Regions from separate parts of the Homo sapiens genome. Here region 1 is linked to region 2. Evidence: promoter capture Hi-C in human tissues and cell types (Jung and others, 2019). All regions are on one chromosome and are shown on one strand. The core of a region is centred on a gene start or on the middle of the fragment in contact, and the rest is flanking DNA. Distances in the headings are between cores, read along the strand shown.

Region 1 (3,234 bases), core at 499-2,998, 34 kb after region 2:
TGCAGTTGACTCCAGTCTACTGCACGTAACTGTCACATAATTTCTTTGACTAATTAATTAAACAAGAAAGTGAGATGGCTTTCTCAAAGGTGCATGTTTAACCTAAACACCAGGATGGTTTCAAGATGTCACAGTTACTTGATTGGCACCTGGGTAAGCCCTCATGCCATTTCCTCTTTCTTTTTACTTGACTTACAAAATCCGTGGCAGCCTAGAGGTGTGTGCATCAGAGTCAGCAAACTCACACAGGGGTGCTGACAAGGCAGCCTCCTCTGCCTATGGAACTAGTTCCCATTCCAGAAATAAATCAGGTATTGTCACCTCCTAGATTGTTGCACACACCACTCCCTTTTCCTGGAGTGCCTAAGACTAAGCAACTTCTTTTTCTTTATTTTGTTCTGAGAGCTCTTTGTAAATCATTTTATTGTAGTACTTACCACATCTTACTGCCATTGCTCAATGATGAACTGCAAATATCTTAAGTGCAGGGATGGTCTCTGTATCTCCAGAACCTAATAGAGTATGTAGGAAGCATTTGCTATTGAAAATAGGGCCATGGATATTCATTCACAGACACAATTTTATCTTTAATATAAGTAAAATGATCAATAAACAAGACCACAACTCAAGAGCGAGCAAAGTGTGAGAGATCAAATACCCTTGTAACTATCTTCCTGTTCAAATGAAGCATAACCATAAACTTCCTCTGGTCCCCAGGCACTCTCAGCTCTCAGCCTCTCACAGTCTCTCTCTGCTCCAGTATCTGCCAGTGCTTTTGTGGAAATTGCAGGAATCTGCCTTGGCTTTCTAATCTAACTTTTCCCCAGACATCTCCGAAGGGGATTCCCTTTTTTGCTTCTTTTCTTAGAGACAAAACAGAGCCCTGATATTTTAAATGAATGAAATGCAGTATAATGTAATTAATGCTTAGAAAGAAGCTTGGATGTATTTGATGGTATTTTCAATTGTATTCTTGCTTTTAAAAGAAGGAGGTATTTCTCTCCATTTATCTATCTAGCTATTTAAACTAGCTATCTATTATATATTCGTTTGTATGGATAGAACCGTGTCTAAAATGACATTTATCTCCTTTTAATCATGGATATTTTAGATGGTAGAATTCAAGTATTTATTTAGATGCTGTTCTTTATCCAGGTCAGCATTGGTACTTAATTAGTGAGCATGCATTATTTTTATAATTGCTATTCCAAAATAATTAAAGAACCTACTGCTTCTGTAAATATTTAGAAGACTCCATGCCTCATCTAATGTCAAACTATGGATTTATCTGCCCTGTTATTTAGAGGGCCCCAAACACAAAGATGCATAGTCTTGAATTACCAAACTTCAGAATGGAAAGATGTCTTGTATTTATTTATAGCAGTTTTGACTTTTGAAATGCTGCTGAGCTGAACTTGGGTGCCTTTTTAATCTGCAGTACACATGGGGAATGAATCTGACACTATTTACCAGGTAGATTAAAGAGAGGGATATGTCAGGCAGCCAAGGTGGCTTGTGTTTAGAATGAGTCAAAGCAATGGTGTTCATCAAGCTCTCTCCCCAAAAGGTATGTAGCTTCAGAGACTAAAACATAGTGTACAAGGTGGTCATGAAGTGATTGTTCTCCAGATGTGATATTATGGAGGGTTGTTGTCTTAAACGTAGTTGGTAAAGGATCTTTTTTATCTTGCAGACTTTATGGGGTTTTGGTGCTGCTATGAGCTAGCTATTAGTTCTTGCTGGGAACCGAAAGTTAAAATGGAAGTTTTGGCTGAATCCTTGGGTGATAAGTATCACATCAAAATATGAGCTGTGAGAGCATCCTATAGGAATTTCCAAGCAAATACCCCAAAAGTAGTTATATGATTCAGACACCTCTCTATTACCTCAAGGATAAAGAAGGTCAGTTGTTGGAGATCAGGGAGAATTTGTGAAAAGGATTTCATCGGACACCTAGTCCTCAAGGAGGAAAGGTTTATATGTGTGTGGGTACTTCCCTTGCAGGCCGAGTCAAGAGAGAGGGGCTTTGATGGGATCTGTTGGAGAATATGACATGTGTCCCCTTAAGTTAGGAGGACACACTGAACTGGTGTCTGACTCCTTCCTAGGAAATATTCAGGGTGAGAGATGGGCTGAGGACCTGCTGTGGTCTCACTGAGCCTGTAGGATGGAGTAAAAGACATACATTAGAATGACAGGGAATGAAGGTGGTCTGGGGACAGAGCTCTTCGTCTCCCTTTGGGATAGTGGCAGAATGCACCTACCGCAGAAAGTGAAGTCTCAGAGAAAATAACCCTTTGACTTAGTTATGGCCCAGGGACAATAGCTACCCTTGTACTGAGATTAAATCTATGCAATGGCTTGCTCCAAAAGGATGACAGGTCAAAGGCGGGATAAGAAAACATGTCAGTGGAGTCACTAGTTTATAAGCCATGTTAAGATATACTTGGGATAGAAACCATAAAAACCCTAGAAGAAATCCTAGGCAATACCATTCAGGACATAGGCATGGGCAAGGACTTCATGAGTAAAACACCAAAAGCAATGGCAAGAAAAGCCGAAATTGACAAATGGGATCTAATTAAATTAAAGAGCTTCTGCACAGCAAAAGAAACTACCCTCAGAGTGAACAAGGCAACCTACAGAATGGGAGAAAATTTTTACAATCTACCCATCTGACAAAGGGCTAATATCCAGAATCTACAAAGAACTTAAACAAATTTACAAGAAAAAATCAAACAACCCCATCAAAAAGTAGGCGAAGGATATGAACAGACACTTTTTGAAAAAAGACATTTATGCAGCCAACAGACACATGAAAAAATGCTCATCATCACTGGCCATCAGACAAATGCAAATCAAAACCACAATGAGATACCATCTCAAACCAGTTAGAATGGCAATCATTAAAAAGTCAGGAAACAACAGGAGGATGTGGAGAAATAAGAACACTTTTACACTGTTGGTGGGACTGTAAACTAGTTCAACCATTGTGGAAGACACTATGGCGATTCCTCAAGGATCTAGAACTAGAAATACCATTTAACCCAGCCATCCCATTACTGGGTATATACCCAAAGGATTGCACATCATGATGCTATAAAGACATATGCACACGTATGTTTATTGAGGCACTATTCACAATAGCAAAGACTTGGAACCAACCCAAATGTCCATCAATGATAGACTGGATTAAGAAAATGTGGCACATATACACCATGGAATAGTATGCAG
Region 2 (3,314 bases), core at 409-2,908:
ACAGAACAAACAGGAAATGTGGGAGAACTATTCTTCCAGAACTTCTTAAACTCTCTAAGCACTCTAAACTTTAAAGAAGCTGAGCAAAGTATTCTACTTTTAATGTGAATATTGAAAAGTACTTGCTTTCTTTTCTTGGTTATTGTCTGAGCCAGGAAGGGGGCCATCAGGTTCAACTGGCTGTTCCTCTGCAGTCGCAGTTGGAGAGGCACTTTTGTTTACATTTGTATCTAGGTAACCAGAATGCTGAATCAGGTCAGGAACTATGACAAGTGAATTTTTGCAGTGCTGCTAATTTTTTTTTAATTGAGGGCAGTTTCTGTACATATAGCTTGGCTTAAAGGGAGGCTTTCAATTTGCTTTACATTTCCCCTCTCCTCACTTATCCCAATTCTCCCCCATCCCCCCATAACATCTATAGTTAGCTAGAAGAGCATTTCTTTACAGATACTTCTATAAGACCTTTAGAAACTTTTTTAGGATCAGACAGCTCTAAAATAATCAGGAATGTATTTTTTTTAAATTATACTTTAAGTCCTGGGATACACGTGCAGAACATGCAGGTTTGTTACGTAGGTATACACGTGCCATGGTGGTTTGCTGCACCCATCAGCCCATCATCTACATTAGGTATTTCTCCTAATACTATTCCTCCTCTAGCCCCCAACCCCCAACAGGCCCCAGTGTGTGATGTTCCCCTCCCTGTGTCCATGTGTTCTCATTGTTCAACTCCCACTTGTGAGTGAGAACATGTGGTGTTTGGTTTTCCGTTCCTGTGTTAGTTTGCTGAGAATGATGGTTTCCAGCTTCATCCATGTCCCTGCAAAGGGACATGAACTCATCCTTTTTTATGGCTGCATAGTATTCCATGGTGTATATGTGCGGCATTTTCTTTATCCAGTCTATCATTGATGGGCATTTGGGTTGGTTCCAAGTCTTTGCTATTGTGAACAGTGCTGCAATAAACATACGTGTGCATGTGTCTTTATAGTAGAATGATTTATAGTCCTTTGGGTATATACCCATTAATGGGATTGCTGGATCAAATGGTATTTCTAGTTCTAGATCCTTGAGGAATCACCTCACTGTCTTCCACATGGTTGAACTAATTTACACTCCCACCAACAGTATAAAAGCGTTCCTATTTCTCCACATCCTCCCCAGCATCTGTTGTTTCCTGACTTTTTAATGGTTACTATTCTAACTGGCATGAGATGGTATCTCATTGTAGTTTTGATTTGCATTTCTGTAATGACAAGTGATGATGAGCTTTTTCTCGTATGTTTTGGCTGCATAAATGTCTTCTTTTGAGAAGTGTCTGTTCACATCCTTTGCCCACTTTTTGATGGGGTTTTTTTTTCTTGTACATTTGTTTAAGTTATTACTCTGTTGTGCCCAAGCCTTCTGAGGGTCTTCATTGGGATTCATTATTTTGTTTATATGTAATAAGAAACAGAAGAAAGATAGTGAAGTAGGAGAAATTTAGAGACCTCGAATAGTCCATAAGTACCTGAACTCATGATGCTTGCTTTTCCAGCTTTATTTTTTGTAGATTTGATATTTTTGAAAAACAATCTCTGTGATTTTTTTCTTTTTTCTGAGGAAGCCAATGTACCAAGGAATTGTAATTGCATCCTAACTAAGGTCTTCCTGTTTCTGGGGCCTCTTCCCAAGGGTGACTTAGTAGCATTGTGACTGCAGGAAGGATCTATGATGTCAGTGTGGCTGGCCCTCACAACTGAAGTCAGGAAATCCCTGGGATTTAGAAGCTTTGAATGTTTTCTGTAGTGCTCATCATCATACAAATCACTAAGCCTTTCACTTCTTTGTCTCATGGGGTGGGAAGTGGCCATTGTTATACTGATATTTCACACTCTTCTCCTGATTTCATCTTCACAGTTTGAAAAGTGACGAGTTATCATCAAGCTAGACAAAGAGGAAATGAAATGCTGCGGTATGCCCAAATCTTTCTCCAAGTATGTTAGGGAGGAAGCTAACTCTTCTAGGTTAGAAGGGGACTTCACAGATAGTGCAGCACTGATGAAAAGTGACATGGGTCAGAGTTTTACAGAAATGAAAATATTGAACTTTGCCTTTGTAGGGGAAATTTTGTTCAGTTATTTAGCCAAAAGGGGGTGGATTGTTTTAGCTGTAAAATGTTTGTCTGAGTTTTAAAATTAGAATTTGCATGTTTGTTAGTACTACTTGGCCTCCATATACAGAAATGATGCTTTGGCTAAGTTGTTGTCCAAATTATGGTATCAGATTTGCCTTGTTTAAAGGCACACAATGTTCAGGATGCTGAGTGACAAACTTTGATCCCACAGATAAAGGACACCTATGATTTGGGCTTCCATGCATATCCCCTAGTCCTAAGCTAAGCCCTTAAAACTCAAAGATGCAGTAGTTCATGGTTTGCAAGCAGTCCAAAAGGCTCATTATGCTACCCTAATCACCATTGTATCTAGTGCCAAGGGAGACTGACACACAGCAGTGACTAAGAGCAGGTGGCTACAGATTCTGAGAGAGTGGATTGGAACCCTGACTCCTCAACCTACCAGCTGTTTAGTTTGGACAAAATTACATCACCTCTTTAAGCCTCAACTTTCTCCTCTGTGAAATGAGCTAATAATATCGATCCCATAAGATGGTTGAGAGGATTAAATGTAATAATATACTTACAGCGCTCAGCTGAGGGCGGTGCCAGGAATCCACTAAAAGATAACTATTATTAGCGATTATTTCACAAGGTGCCAATTATCCAAGAAACAGTCACAAGCAGAGTCTGTGTGAGAAAGAAAAACTAGATTTAACCTTGCTTAACAACTTTTTAAGATTCTTTCTCTTCTTAAATTCAGCTTTTAATCCATGGTATTTGGTTAGAAAAATGGGCCCTACTAAAATGGACAATTTTGGTAGGTTTGTTCTCTAAACATAAATGGCTATTCAATTTTAACATAACAATGCACATAATATATATGTATATTATTAATGTCTGCTCTGGTTTGAATCTCTCCACCAAAACTCATGTTGAAATGTAATTGCCATTCTTTTTTTTTTTTTTTTGAGTTGTAGTCTTGCACTGTCACCCAGGCTGGAGTGCAATAGTGCGATCTTGGCTCACTGTAAGCTTGGCCTCCCAGATTCATGCCATTCTCCTGCCTCAGCCTCCCAAATAGCTGGGACTACAGGTGCCCACCACCACACTCGGCTAATTTTTTGTATTTTTAGTAGAGACAGGGTTTCATCGTGTTAGCCAGGATGGTCTCGATTTCCTGACCTCGTGATCTGCCCACCTCGGCCTCCCAAAGTGC

The links. The method cuts DNA at HindIII sites, captures the fragments that hold promoters and counts their contacts. A contact is called where the count stands out against the background at its distance.
Region 1: a contact is called between a fragment that was not itself captured here and the fragment with the promoter of FAM81B in region 2, in 1 of the 25 tissues and cell types used here (pancreas).

What each region holds. Positions count from the first base shown.
Region 1 is chr5:95,355,981-95,359,214 of GRCh38, reverse strand. No RefSeq gene overlaps it. Among named protein-coding and RNA genes, the nearest start is that of FAM81B, 34 kb to the left of the region's middle. The HindIII fragment of the contact is 3,102 bases long and covers 198-3,234 here.
Region 2 is chr5:95,389,710-95,393,023 of GRCh38, reverse strand. It overlaps FAM81B (family with sequence similarity 81 member B), which reads right to left and starts at 1,658. Exons shown (of 10, transcript NM_152548.3): 1 at 1,511-1,658; 2 at 127-230. The coding sequence starts at 1,634. LOC105379089 (a long non-coding RNA gene) reads left to right here and starts at 1,852. Exons shown (of 3, transcript XR_948586.1): 1 at 1,852-1,954. RefSeq lists an enhancer at 1-498. The HindIII fragment of the contact is 13,198 bases long and covers 1-2,450 here.